Regions from separate parts of the Homo sapiens genome. Here all the other regions are linked to region 3. The links are contacts of gene promoters, found by promoter capture Hi-C in blood cells and fetal thymus (Javierre and others, 2016). All regions are on one chromosome and are shown on one strand. Each heading gives the region's core, a stretch centred on a gene start or on the middle of the fragment in contact. The rest is flanking DNA. Distances are from core to core; before and after follow the strand shown.

The links. The method cuts DNA at HindIII sites, captures the fragments that hold promoters and counts their contacts. A CHiCAGO score of 5 or more calls a contact.
Region 1: a contact is called between a fragment that was not itself captured here and the fragment with the promoter of TRMT6 in region 3, in 1 of 17 cell types (megakaryocytes). The highest score is 6.2, in megakaryocytes.
Region 2: a fragment that was not itself captured here is called in contact with the fragment with the promoter of TRMT6 in region 3 in 2 of 17 cell types (naive CD4 T cells and total CD8 T cells); the score reaches 5.5 in naive CD4 T cells.
Region 4: a contact is called between a fragment that was not itself captured here and the fragment with the promoter of TRMT6 in region 3, in 1 of 17 cell types (naive CD4 T cells). The highest score is 6.6, in naive CD4 T cells.
Region 5: a fragment that was not itself captured here is called in contact with the fragment with the promoter of TRMT6 in region 3 in 8 of 17 cell types (naive CD4 T cells, total CD8 T cells, naive CD8 T cells and 5 more); the score reaches 14.2 in naive CD4 T cells.

The regions. Positions count from the first base shown.
Region 1 is chr20:6,067,415-6,070,114 of GRCh38, forward strand. No RefSeq gene overlaps it. Among named protein-coding and RNA genes, the nearest start is that of LRRN4, 15 kb to the left of the region's middle. The HindIII fragment of the contact is 9,893 bases long and covers 1-2,700 here.
Region 2 is chr20:5,848,796-5,851,495 of GRCh38, forward strand. The region is part of intron 2 of SHLD1 (shieldin complex subunit 1); the gene reads left to right. Among named protein-coding and RNA genes, the nearest start is that of CHGB, 61 kb to the right of the region's middle. The HindIII fragment of the contact is 2,039 bases long and covers 337-2,375 here.
Region 3 is chr20:5,949,090-5,951,789 of GRCh38, forward strand. TRMT6 (tRNA methyltransferase 6 non-catalytic subunit) reads right to left here and starts at 1,444. Exons shown (of 11, transcript NM_015939.5): 1 at 1,189-1,444. The coding sequence starts at 1,316. MCM8 (minichromosome maintenance 8 homologous recombination repair factor) reads left to right here and starts at 1,563. Exons shown (of 19, transcript NM_032485.6): 1 at 1,563-1,934. RefSeq lists an enhancer at 1,440-1,579. The HindIII fragment of the contact is 3,685 bases long and covers 1-2,700 here.
Region 4 is chr20:6,035,474-6,038,173 of GRCh38, forward strand. It overlaps CRLS1 (cardiolipin synthase 1), which reads left to right. Exons shown (of 7, transcript NM_019095.6): 7 at 1,601-2,700. The coding sequence ends at 1,685. Among named protein-coding and RNA genes, the nearest start is that of LRRN4, 17 kb to the right of the region's middle. The HindIII fragment of the contact is 4,678 bases long and covers 1-2,700 here.
Region 5 is chr20:5,830,603-5,833,302 of GRCh38, forward strand. All of the region lies in intron 2 of SHLD1 (shieldin complex subunit 1), which reads left to right. Among named protein-coding and RNA genes, the nearest start is that of CHGB, 80 kb to the right of the region's middle. The HindIII fragment of the contact is 5,167 bases long and covers 1-2,700 here.

The DNA of each region.
Region 1 (2,700 bases), core at 89-2,588, 120 kb after region 3:
TTGCAATCTGCTCATTTTAGTTCTGCAGCAGCTGATTTTAGGTATGGCACAGTGGCTCATGCCATATATAAATGGCCGGGTGCGGTGGCTCATGCCTATAACCCTAGCACCTTGGGAGGCTGAGGCCAGTGGATCTCCTGAGCTCAGGAGTTCAAGACCAGTCTGGGCAACATGGCGAAACCCTGTCTCTACCAAAATCACAAAAAATTAGCCAGGTGTGGTGGTGCGTGCCTGTGGTCTCAGCTACTTGGGAGGCTGAGGTGGGAGGATTGCTTGAGCGTAGAGGTGGAGGTTGCAGTGAGCTGAGATGGCACTGCTGCACTCCAGCCTGGGTGACAGAATGAGACCCCATCTCAAACAAAACAAAGCAAAAACCATAATCATGAATACTAAGGGCATGCCTCACAAATCCCTGTGGTCTCATATCTGACCAACTGTGCCCATGTATGTTTCTTACCCCAACACACAGTAACATGTGCAGCCCCTTATCTTAAAAGGGTGAACTTTGCTTGAGTTACATGCAATGGATTCAGCAGGTTCTTGCCAAGTGTTGGCTGCCTGTTTGCTCTCCTGATGTCTACCTGATTAAAAGAACCTTATAAAAGGAGGAAAAGGTCAGGGTAAAAACATTTCATGCAGCCTCTAGAAACAGAACTCAGTCCCTTAGGAAAAGTCACCTCTCTCTGGTAGGACTTGGCACCAACGATTGCCACACACTAGTGAGAGTTGGGCCAACCAGTTGTAGGGGTGGAAAGTCCTCTGGTTTGGTGTCGTCTTTGTCGGGAAAAAAGGCAGAACCCTTTCCTCCCCTTCTTAACTCCACCTCTCACCCAGATTTGCAAGCAAACGTTACATTGGACCAACAGTGGGAATCTGAGAACTTTTTAGCAGAAATTTTCACTATTTTGGCATTTGAAACCTAGTGTAAAGTAATTGGAAGAAAAAAGTGTCTATGGAGTTCTGTAGGTCTTACTCAAACATGTTCTGAGAAAAATCAACTCAAGGACATTGTCACGAGTAAAGACTATCTAGGGTCCTTGGCTCCGGAGGCCTTGCCTTCTCATGGGAAATCAAGAGTAGTGTTGAGGAGCAAGCTCAAGTCAGAAGATTTTCATACAAATCCTTGCTTCCCACATACTAGCTGAGTGACTTTGACAAGTTGCTTGACCTCTCTGTGCACAGTTCCGATGTGTGCTGGAGCTGGTTTATCCCCACTGGAAAGACGGATGTTTGCATTTCTTCCCAACTCTGTGTTCACTGACATCATGTTGGCTGTGGTGGGAATCTTTATACCATGGGAATTGGCAAATCAGTGTTTCCCCAGTCCACAGAGTTGTAAACATTTACCAGTGCACCACTGCATGTTTTCTACTTTGTACAATGGGCTGATAATACCTTCCTCACCTAGGGGATGAATTGAGAGAACTCATAGGAGACAAAAGTGATAGCCCTTAATACACACGAGTTTTCTAATTCTTTTAGCCATGTAAATGTTTGCTATATTATTGTTGAGACTGCTTTTTGGAGAGGTGGGAGCTGATTTCACTTGCTCTATCATTGGTTTGCAAAGCCACTTACCATTTTGGTATCCCTGTTGCTCCTGGGGCCTATTTGACTGCTATGGCAACCTGTCAACCTACCCTGAAATTCAGCAAATTATTTAACCTGATGGCATGGCCGGAATAATGGGGTTGTGTTGGCAGAGAGACACCGGAGTCTCTGAAGAAAACACATGCATGATACAAAGGTCCCAGATTATTACACCTGAGTCGGGGATATATCTTGACCTGATTGTGGTGGAGATGGACTGTAATCAATGGAGGACTACAATGGCATGGTCTCAGCTCACTGCAACCTCCACCTCCCAGGTTCAAGTGATTCTCCTGTCTCAGCCTCCCAAGTAGCTGGGATTACAGGTGCGCTCCACTTCGCCTGGCTAATTTTTGTATTTTTAGTAGAGATGGGGTTTCTCCATGTTGGTCAGGCTGATCTTGAACTCCTGACCTCAGGTGATCCACCTGCCTTGGCCTCCCAAAGTGCTGGGATTACAGGCGTGAGCCACTGTGCCTGGCCAATTTCCATGAATTTCAAATGGCTTAATAGATAGCTTATTAAAATACAAAAACAAAAACCAGGAGACAGGATGGTATAAAGATGAGAAAGACACACTCTGAAATGCCATCAGCTGTGTCTTAGGATACCGCTAGAATGGGATAGATTTCTTATTCTCCTTTTTGGGGATATCTCATCCTGCATTAGTCAGCTATTCCACAATGATGCTGCTTAACACACTGCTCCAGAACTCAGTGGCTTACAATAACAAGAATTTGTTCCCACACAAATTGTCTGTGGGTCAGCTGATCTAGCTCGGCTTGGCTCCAGGCTGTGGACTCCATTTAGATCTGCTACATGGATTCCATTCAGTGGCTCAGGTGATGACCTGGGGAATCCTGTTCTCACAGTGGAGGCAGGAGTGCAAAAGGATTGCAAAAGCACAGTGGCAGCCTCTGGGCCAAAGGAAGTCAAACGGCCAAGTCCAACAGTAAGTGGGCAGGTAGTATGTGCCACCCATGGTAGGAGAGGAGAGGGGAGAAAATATTTGCTGAACAATGATCCAAACTGTCACACAAACCATCACACTTATTTGAAAATAAGCTGATAAACTATTTTTCTAATTAAAAATATGTTCTTGTTAAAAAT
Region 2 (2,700 bases), core at 106-2,605, 100 kb before region 3:
GGCATTCATTTTATTCCTCCGTGGTGGCCTCTTAGAGGACCGCGTCCTCTGCTCATGGCATCTGTGTGTCATTAGGATGAAGGGTGATAGCATATGCCACTTTCCCTCTGAGTGATTCATCCAGTTTGAACTTTCAGATATAAACAAGTACAGAGACTGTGGTTTCAAAAGCACCTGACCAAACCATCCATCCCTTTGAAATGTTAATTTGTATTAAATATCTTGATATCCACACACTCTCACTTTGTGAGGATGTGGTTTTGTCCTTTAAAGGAACAGTTGCAAATTCTAAAATATATGAATCGTGGAAGGCAGGGTTGCTATTAGGAAAAAGGAAGCTTAAGTTTATTGTTTTTCTGTAACTAATTTTATGTAACTAATAAGATAGGATGTAAGGTGCCCTAGAACTCCAACCCTGGTGTTACGACGCAGCAGGGAAAAGCCAGACTAAACCAGAAAGAGAACTCCAGCGAGGTGCCGATGGTTCAGAGTGAATCAGGGCCAATTCACTTGCTGGACAGTAACCAAAAGGTTTGTACAGCTAGGAAGTGGGAGAAATGCCAGTGGTGAAAACAGGGAAAAGGAAAGGAGGATTGGCTTGGAGTGTCATAGGACAAATCCGTGGAGGTTTAGCCAAAAACAAAAGTCTGTAGACACCTTATTGTTTATAACATGGACTGGGATGATTTCCAGCATCAAATCTCAGCCCTCTGGGACATAACTGTGTGGTAGGAACTTTCCACTGTTAACCCAGGTATATCAGCCCCACTCCTCCAGCACCAGGTTGCATAATGTGTCATAATACATGTATACATGTAATGAATTGTGTGATCAAGGGCCCTCTAGAAAATGAAAAGGGGTGCCATTAATAATTCATTGAGGGGCCGGGCGCGGTGGCTCACGCCTGTAATCCCAGCACTTTGGGAGGCCGAGGCGGGTGGATCATGAGGTCAGGAGATCGAGACCATCCTGGCTAACAAGGTGAAACCCCGTCTCTACTAAAAATACAAAAAATTAGCCGGGCGCGGTGGCGGGCGCCTGTAGTCCCAGCTACTCGGGAGGCTGAGGCAGGAGAATGGCGTGAACCCGGGAAGCGGAGCTTGCAGTGAGCCGAGATTCCGCCACTGCAGTCCGCAGTCCGGCCTGGGCGACAGAGCGAGACTCCGTCTCAAAAAAAAAAAAAAAAAAAAAAAATTCATTGAGGCTAGGGTGATGGCTTATGCCTGTAATCTCAGCACTTTGGGAGGCCGGAGCAGGAGGATCACCTGAGCCCAGGAATTCAAGACCAGCCTGGGCAACACAGCAAGACCCCGTCTCAATAATAATAATAATAATAATAATAATAATAATAATAATTAACTGAGACAACAGGCCTAAACCAGGACTGTCCTGGGCAAACTTTCCAGTCACTCTATTGAGTACCAGTCCCTCTAGTAAGAGCACACGTTTATGGAAAGGAATGCCTGAAGTTGAAAGGTTAGCAGAAGTGTTTACCTGGCTTCTTAGTCTAGCCCCCACGCCCTCCAGAGCCTAACCCCATTTCTTCCTCTCTTGTAAGGATTCTCTGCACCTTCCAGACCACCTCTCACTAGGCTCTTGGGCATTCTCATGTCTGCACCTAGCACTGGGCTTCCCCTCCCTGAAGTAACTTTCTTCCTCGACCTGGTCTGTCTGAGGATGACTTGCCTTCCCAGTTCCAGCTTTTTTTAGTTTTAATTTTTTTTTTTTTTTTTGAGATGGAGTCTTGCTCTGTCGCCCAAGTGGGAGTGCAGTGGTGTGATCTCGGCTCACTGCAACCTCCACCTCCCGGGTTCAAGCAATTCTCCTGCCTCAGCCTCCCGAGTAGCTGGGATTACAGGTGTGTGCCACCACACCCAGCTAATTTTTGTATTTTTAGTAGAGACGAGGGTTTCACCATGTTGGCCAGACTGGTCTCTAACTCCTGACCTCGCGATCTTCTTGCCTGGGCCTCCCAAAGTGCTGGGATTACAGGCATGAGCCAACGCACCTGGCGCCCAGTCCCAGCTTTACTTCTCATCCGGCTTTACTCTGCATTGCCTCCTGGAACTTGGCCATCCTTCACTGAGCTGAACCTGTGCCTTGGCTGGTCGATGCTCCATAATTATTGAGTATGAAAGGGAGGGACAAGTGGGCCACTTTGGAAGGCTGGTCCTTGCTTCTTTGCAGGAGTGGTCTCCAGGGGCAGCTGGCCAAGGAGGACAATACAGCACACAGACCAACTAGTATGGACGTCTCATGCTCTCTAACAGTGGGGGACATTGTAGCACAGCACAAATCAACATGGCTGCCATCCGAATGCCACCTGATCTCTGGGAGCTTCAACACAAATCTTCAGGAAAGATTATTGGAACCAAAGCTTTCTTAAACCACAACTATAAAGAATGTCTATCCAGGAATGGTGGCTCATATTTGTAATCTCAGCTACTTGGGAGCCTGAGGCCAGAGGATCACTTAAGCCCAGGAGTTTGAGACCAGCCTGACCAACATGGTGAGACCCCATCTCTACAAAAAATTTTTAAATATTAGCTGGGCATCATGGTGGTGCATGCCTGCAGTTCTAGCTACTCAGGAGGCTGAGGTGGGAGGATCCCTTGAACCTAGGACTTCGAGGCTACAGTGATCTATGATCATGCCACTCTGCTCTAGCTTAGGTAACAGAGTGAGACCCCTGTCTCCTTA
Region 3 (2,700 bases), core at 194-2,693:
CACCTGTAATCCCAGCACTTTGGGAGGCCGAGGCGGGTGGATCACCTGAGGTCAGGAGTTCGAGATCAGCCTGGCCAACATGGTGAAACCCCGTCTCTACTAAAAATACAAAAAAAAAAAAAAAAGATTAGCCGAGTGTGATGGTGCCAGAGTCCCAGCCACTAGGGAGGCTGAGGCAGGAGAATCGCTTGAACCTCGGAGGCAGAGGCTGCAATGAGCCGAGATTGCACTACTGCCCTAAAGCCTGGGTGACAAAGCAAGACTCCGTCTCAAAAACAAAAACACTGTGGTTGTATTTCTCAGATAAATTAATCCAAATATCCCAATAAATTTTCACCATTAATAAGCTCTTAGGACTTAACAACCTCACCAGCCCTTCCAGAAAGTTATCAAAATCCCACTTCTTTACTTCTATAAAACAGAGCGATACTAGCCAGCAGGTGCACAAACCAAACCTAATTTGGAGTTCTGAGGCCTTGAGCAAATTGCTTTTTAGCAATTTTCCCAGCGTTGAATCCTTTGGTGAGTAAAACGAGGGAAACTCAAAGTGATTCCACACTCTGTGGTGAATTGTCTCCTTCATCTATTCTGTGTATCCTGCTTGGGTAGAGAAGAGGATAGAAAGCCAGACTAGGTAGGAGACGTTTCATTTTTTGTGGGATAGATCCTGACTGGGGGATTAGGGAAGAAGGAGGATCTATGGTGGAAAAAAAGGGGGAACCTGAAGGAGACTCTGGAGACAAGGATGAGATCCTAAAGTGAAGAAAGGAGGGGGTGTCTCTGGAAAGACAGTGAAGATCCCAAGGTCCTAGGGAAAGAACTTCAGGACAGGTGATTAGGGTGTGGAGAGGGAGGCATTGGCACCCTAGGGCCAAGAATGGAATTCTGGGGAAGGAACTCTGTGGAAAGACTGAAAAGGATGCTGAAGGTGGACGGCCAGATATGAAATCATGGAGGGGGCTCCGGGAAAAACAGGAGGGTTAAGGGAGATTATGAGGTTCGAAGACGGGATCCTGGTGGAAAAGCCTTCTGTGACAGAAAGACCCGAGGAGACAACGAGGGCGGGGAATGGGGACCGAGAGAGCCAAGAATGGCACCCTGGCGGAAGAATTCTGTGGAGAAACCTGGAGGGAGGGGGTATCTACAAGGTGGGGGCGGGAGACCCCTAAAATCAGCGATCTGACTTACTTTCTCCGCTGGACTTGTACTGCTTTAAACACATCTTCACGTTTCAGCACCACGAAGTCGCCGTCGCGGATGCGGTGGTCTCCGGGATGCTGTGGTTGTGGGCCCGGCTGCTCCCCTGAGCCCTCCATGACGCTCAGCCGGTCGCCGTGCTCCACGGCGTCCCGCCCCTCCTCCTCGGTTGTCGCCACCGCCAGCCTCACTTCCCACAACCTGGCGCACTAGGAGCCCTCCGACCGGCACCGCCCCCACGTGTTGCACGCCGCTTCCGCTTTCCGGCCCAGACCTCAAGACCGCTTCCGGAAGCCTCTCGGCTTCCGTCTGGCCAAACTCCTTGATTGGCTGCACTCCGCCCCGCCCCTCTCGTCTTGCCGCTTCTTTGAGCGGAAGTTGGATCACTGAAGCGCCAAAAAAGAATTTAGGGGAAGACCTGATTTTCGCTTGAGGCATTTTTGCGGCGCTGTGCGCTACAGACACCTTCTGGAAGCTGCGGTGGGGAAACTGAGTTTCCCGAGCCGTTGAGACAGATGGGGTTCAGCACCGCGCGGGGACGACAGGAAAGCTGCGGCTGAAGAGAACTGCGGACTTGGCAGGAGTCGCCTGAGGAGCTAAGATCCCGGAGACTCTTAGCCCCGTGGTGCTTCTCTACGGGAGGGAGGGAGGGAGAATCCGGCCGGACAGATCTGCGCGTATCCTGGAGCCGGCCCAGTTGTGAACTAGGAGAGCTTTGGGACCTCTGTCCCAAGCAAGTAAGAACTTTAGCCTTAGGAGATGTAAATAAAGTAGTATTTGAAGAAGCACAGGTACCCAACTGTTTCTTTTTACTCTTTCTCCAGTCCTACTTCTTAACGTTTTTTTGAATTTGTTACTGTTCTCAGCATATTGTCTCGTTTGAGAAGGGTATGGCACGCAGCGTTGTTGAAGGAGCGCCTCAGCTTGGGAGGCTGAAAGTTTTATCTCTGTACTGTCGACAAACAACTTTGATCTTGATCGGTTTGCTTAATTTCTTTGAGCATCAGTTTCATAATGTGTAATGCCTAATTATTGGAGCCCTGTCATGCCGTTAAATCGTGAACTTTCTAGTTACTATCTTGTTTTATTAACTAAACCCCTTTTAAGTAAGGATTTGGGTAGAGTATTTGATAATGAATTGCACTGCAGCGTACAGGTATATCTTTATTTACTTGTATACTTAGGATATGAATCATTTTTAAGTAGACGTGTATTTTATAAGAACAGTTTTGGATTTACAGAAAAACTGCACAAAAAATGGATGTGACACTGCAGGATTGACTGTATGTAAGAAGCTATGATGATGTATCCCTAGTGTCTCACAGGCCAGAATTATGTTCATCCTGTCCTGCCCTATAATAAGAAGTCTCAAATACTGCAAATAAGTTTTCATAGAGTTAATTACCTGTCCTATTTTCATTTCTGTAATGGGGACTTGTAAACAGGTACAGTACCTGTCCTTATTTTTAACCTGTGAGCGTCTAGTATACGTAAACCATATTT
Region 4 (2,700 bases), core at 21-2,520, 86 kb after region 3:
CAATCATCTTGTCTATTTATTTTGACAGTATTTTTTTCCCCTAGGAACCCATGAAGAGAGAGACAGTATTTTTTTTTTAATCAAGTCACCTTTATTGAGTCTTTCTAAAGCATCCAATGTAGTTTTCAGAAATAGCAATTAAAAAAATTTTTATTTTATTTTTTTGGAGACAGGGTCTTGCTCTGTCACCCAGCCTGTAGTACAGTGGCATGATCATAGCTCACTGTAACCTTGAATTCCTGGCCTCAAGCGATCCTTCAGCTTCAGCCTCCTGAGTAGCTGGGATTACAGGCATGTGCCACCACCACACCTGGCTATTTTTTTTTAATTAATTAATTTATTTATTTTTGAGACAGAGTCTCGCTCTGTTGCCCAGGCTGGAGTGCAATGGCCTGATCTCAGCTCACTGCAACCTCTACCACCCGGGTTCAAGCGATTCTCCTGCCTCAGCCTCCTGAGTAGCTGGGATTACAGGCGCCCACCACCATACCTGGCCAATTTTTGTATTTTTAGTAAAGGCGGGATTTCACCTTGTTGGTCAGGCTGGTCTCGAACTCCTGGCCTCAGTTGATCCACCCGCCTCAGCCTCTCAAAGTGCTGGGATTACAGGTGTGAGCCACTGTGCCCAGCCACTAATTTTTTGTATTATTATTTTTTGTAGAAACAGGGTCTCACTATGTTGCCCAGGCTGGTCTCAAACTCTTGGCCTCAAACAATCCTCCTGCCTCGGCCTGCCAAAGTGGTAGGATTATAGTCATGAGCCACTGCGTCCAGCTAGAAATAGCAATTTTTCTAACACATATATTTCATTGGTTTATGTATGAATTTAGAATATCAAAGTGGCATGAACAGGTTCAAGATCCAACAAAAGGGAATCTTGATTCTGCCTCACCTAATAAAAGCAGAAGTGCGTGGGCGCACTAAAAAGTAATCTAGCTGTGGGCATGCAGCATGCCATGGGTGTCAGGTGATGTCATTTCAAGGAGAATCCGGTTAAGGGTAGTTTGGTAAAGAAAGCTGAAATTTATTTAAAATGACTCAGGTATCTTTAGAATTCTCAAAAGCTGCAGGAAATAAGAGTCTGGTACCCTGAGAAGCATGGGGCAGTAGAAAGAGCATGTGGGCTTTAGAGTTCAAACGAAGTCAGGCTCAAACATAGTTCTGTGATAAGCCCTGAGCAAGTTACCCGGGTCTTCCATTTCCCCCTTCTGGAGAAGTCCTTTGGAGGATGAGTCCTTCTGGAGGATGAGTCCTTCTGGAGGATGAAGTCCTTCTGGAGGATGAGTTCGTTGTAAGAATAAAATGAGAATGTAAGACACCTAGAGGATGCCCGAGTAAAAAATGACAGTTGCTAGTAGTAGTAATTTGTAGGGCTCATTATCTAGAATAATTTTGTTTGACGTTACTAATTAAAATGAACTCTTAAAGAAAAGCAGTGTATTTAGACTCTTGTAGTTAAGAAAAATTACACCACAGAGCCCTTTTTACTTTTTAAATTCATTTTTACATTTTAAATTCATTGCATGTATTCATTATGATTCCCGTTGCTACTATTTTTTAGACTTGACAACTACATTTTATTTCTTTTCTTCCATAAAAGGTGTTTTACAGCTTTCACCACAGCTGCATCAGCTTATAGTTACTATCATTATGGCCGGAAGACTGTTCAGGTGATAAAAGACTGATGAAAGTCATCCCTCACTGTTAGTAAGGAAGCAGTATACATCAATGGGAACAGGGCCCATGGAAATGTACAGGAGTTTCCCTATTTTGGTGTTCAGCTTGAAAAAGGACTTGTCAGAATCAACTGTGTCATCAAAATTTAAGTAATGTGCATTGAAAATAAGGTTGATCATGGGAATATGCAGAATTTCCAATGTATTTTTAAATACAAATAAAATTGTAATTTAGAATTTTTAATCTTAGGTTTCTTGATTAATTTATAAGAGATCAATTATTGTCAGTCTTTTTTGTATGTTTTTTAAAAACATAGTCCAGAGCATGGGCAGAATTGACACCTCTCTTTTAAGTGAAATTTGGATTGCTCACAAAGCACTAGGAAATGTCATGGGGTTCAAATATATATCCTACACAACTGGGCAATACATTTTTGTTTGATTTTTAGGTCTGTGTATACATTAACAGTTCATGTAATTAATACCTGATCATTTGGGATAATGAAAGTGAAGTTAGTTGTAGATGAAGTAAAGTTATAAAAGAGATTAAAAATGCGGTAACTTTTTAAGATAATAATCATACAGAAGGTATGAAGTTCATTTTCGGTAGTCTTCCAACCTCTCAGGTGCCTAATAATTTATGTTTGAGGATAACAGGTAACAAAGATAGTCGAGATAGGAGAACGTGTCTATTAGTCTTTGCATCTAAAAGGCAGTGAGTTACGTTCCTGCCTTCCACTGTGTTTCTGACATAGCAATGTTTGTTTGATATTGGAACCTGGATTCATATTTTATGTAAATAATATCAAGCTGTATATTTTTCAAAGGTTTTTTAAACTTTGGAGACTCTTTCTTTTGTTAAGCAGTTAAAGGAATAAAAGAGCTGGAAAAAAAATTGTACCTTCAACTCAGGTTGTTCCATATAACATACGTATTCTCTGCTGTTACGTAAGTTTTCCGATTCACAGAGTCCATTCATGTACATCACTTACACTTAAATTGTAAAAATAATTAGTCTGACCAT
Region 5 (2,700 bases), core at 145-2,644, 120 kb before region 3:
GCTTGAACCCAGGAGGCAGAGGTTGCAGTGAGCCGAGATTGCGCCATTGCACTCCAGCCTGGGCAACAAGAGTGAAACTCCGTCTTAAAAAAAAAAAAAAAAAAGCAATGTAGGTGTTAGAATGGTGGTAAGTCTTAGAAGGTAATAGTTGAAAGGAGGCAAAAGGAGGTCTTCTGGGGTTCTGGTGCTGTTCTGTTTCTTGATCTCAGTGCTGATTATACTGGGTATATTCAGTTTGTAAAAGTTAATAGAGCTTATGATTTAGTATACCATGAATATTATATACCATGATTTGTAACTCAGCTCCTCTTATTACCGCTTAAATTTTATTTATTTATTTAATTTTTTAGGGACTACATTATGCATTAGGCACTTTGATATACGCACGTTATAATTTAATAAAAAGTAAAAAAAAATCAGTTTGAAAATAAGGCATTGCAATAATTTAAGGAAGAGTTGGTCACCATCCTTCTGTGCTTCACCTCTAGGTGGGTGCTTCGTGCTGGCTTATGAGAAAAGGAACACCACAGCAGTGCAGACCATTGAAAATGACAGTGATCCAAGGTTAAAGGTCACACAAGTATTTAATTGTCTTTAAGCAGAACTTTATTACCTACCAAAAGAAACTGTTGAGATACTTCAGCCTAGCCATGGTCTTTTTGTGAAGAACCATAAGCATTTATCCAACTCCCCACCTCCTTTGGGGGTCAACTCAGGTTTCTTGGCTCAGTGAAGTCTTTATAGCACCTCTAGCTTCTGTTCTCTGTAAGCTGTAATTTACAGCCATCATCAAAAGAGCATAGTTTAGCGGTTAATACTACTTTACGTATTTTATTTCTTTTGAATATTCCTTGACCACAAGTTCGTTGAAGCCAACAGCCCACCTTTCATATCTCCATTCAGGAGATATGAAAGGCTGTGCTGTTGCTTACATTTCTGGAACCATGTGGTGACTGGCCGGCAAACATTTAATAAATACTGGACAAGTGATGGACTGTGGCCTTGAAGAAACAGGAAGATGAACAGAAGCCCTACCTGAGGCAGCAGCAAAGATTCGCTTTTAAGTGACAGTAGTTGTGTTGCTTCCCTGGAGTTGTCTCCATTTCAGTTGCCGAATCCCTTTGATCTCTCTCTCTCTCTCTCTCTCAATTTTCTTGTTTACATGTTCATTGTAGAAGATTAGGAAATGTGAAATGTGAAAAAAGCACAAAGAAGAAAAAGGTAAACACTCATAATCCTTCTACAGAGGGAAGCTCTTACTATTTTGTTGTATTTTTTTTTCTTCTTTGGCTTTTCCTATAATACATGTGCTTTCATGCTCTCTGCCCCGTGTTCCCCACCCTTTCTTTTCATTTCTTTCTTTGAAACGGAGCCTTGCTCTTTTGCCCAAGCTGGAATGCTGTGCAGCTGTCTTGGCAACCTCCGCCTACCTGCTTCAAGTGATCCTCCCACCTCAGCCTCGCAGGTAGCTGGGATTACAAGCGCGCACCACTGCGCCCAGCAAATTTTTGTATTTTCAATAGCGATGGGGTTTCACCATGTTGGCCAGGCTGGTCTCAAACTCCTGGCCTCAAGTGATCTGCCCACCTTGGCTTCCCAAAGTGCTGGGATTACAAGCATGAGCCTCTGCGCTGGGCCTCTCTTCATTTCTAGAGAATAATGGAAGTGAATCCAGGAGACAGACTTCTCCACATTGTTAAAAGCTCCTCGGGCAGAGTGGAACTGCACGTGTTGCCACTTTGATTTTCTTTACTCCAAATACAAAGGTGTAACTTGGATTAAGATCGGGGCTTTCACGTCTTGCTGGAAAATAGTAAGCCATAATTTGTAACTCAGCTCCTCTTATTCACCACTTAAATTTTATTTATTTAATTTTCTTTTTTAGAGACAGGATCTTGCTATGTTGCCTGGGTTGGTCTCAAACTCCTGGGCTCAAGTGATCCACCTGCCTCAGTCTCCTGAATAGCTGGGACTATAGGCATGTGTCATCACACCCAGCTACGGCTTAAATTTTTAAGATTAGTTTGGCTAGTATATACATTATGCTCCAAATCACGAAAAAAAAGTATTCTTCCGGGGTAAAACCATGCAGTCTACTAATATAATCATCCTCAGTCTCATCCTGAAAGCAGGGATCATACAAACCTGCTCAGCCTGCATGTGTACCCCTGAACTTAAAAGCTGGAAATCAAAATAATAAATAAATAAATAAATAAATAAATAAATAAATAAATAAATAAATAAATGGGGAAAAAAGCAGGTATCCAACATATTTTAGACCTTAAAATCCCATTAATCCTGGTCCTCTCCTGAGAATTATAACAGAAGATTTGCTTTTCCAGGTAGAGGGTATCTGAGCAGTTGTGCAAGGCTGTGCTGTTGCTTACATTTCTGGAACCATGCGGTGACTGGCCAGTGTTGCATGGCTGACGTGTCCTCCTTCTCCTGACCTGGAGCTCCTGGGCTGCTGTGCTCCTGGTGCATACACCATACAGTGCTAGTACTCTTGCTCTTTCCTCCTAAAAATAGACTCCTAAAACAGTCCTAAAATAGACTCCTCGGCTTCTCTCCTTTTTGACTTTTTTTCCACGAGACTCCTCTGAGCTTGTCCCCAGTTTTGCTTTAGACTCCTGAAATATTTATTTGTTTTTTAATATCTTAACTTTTATTTTAGGTTGAGGGGTACACGTGCAGGTTTAT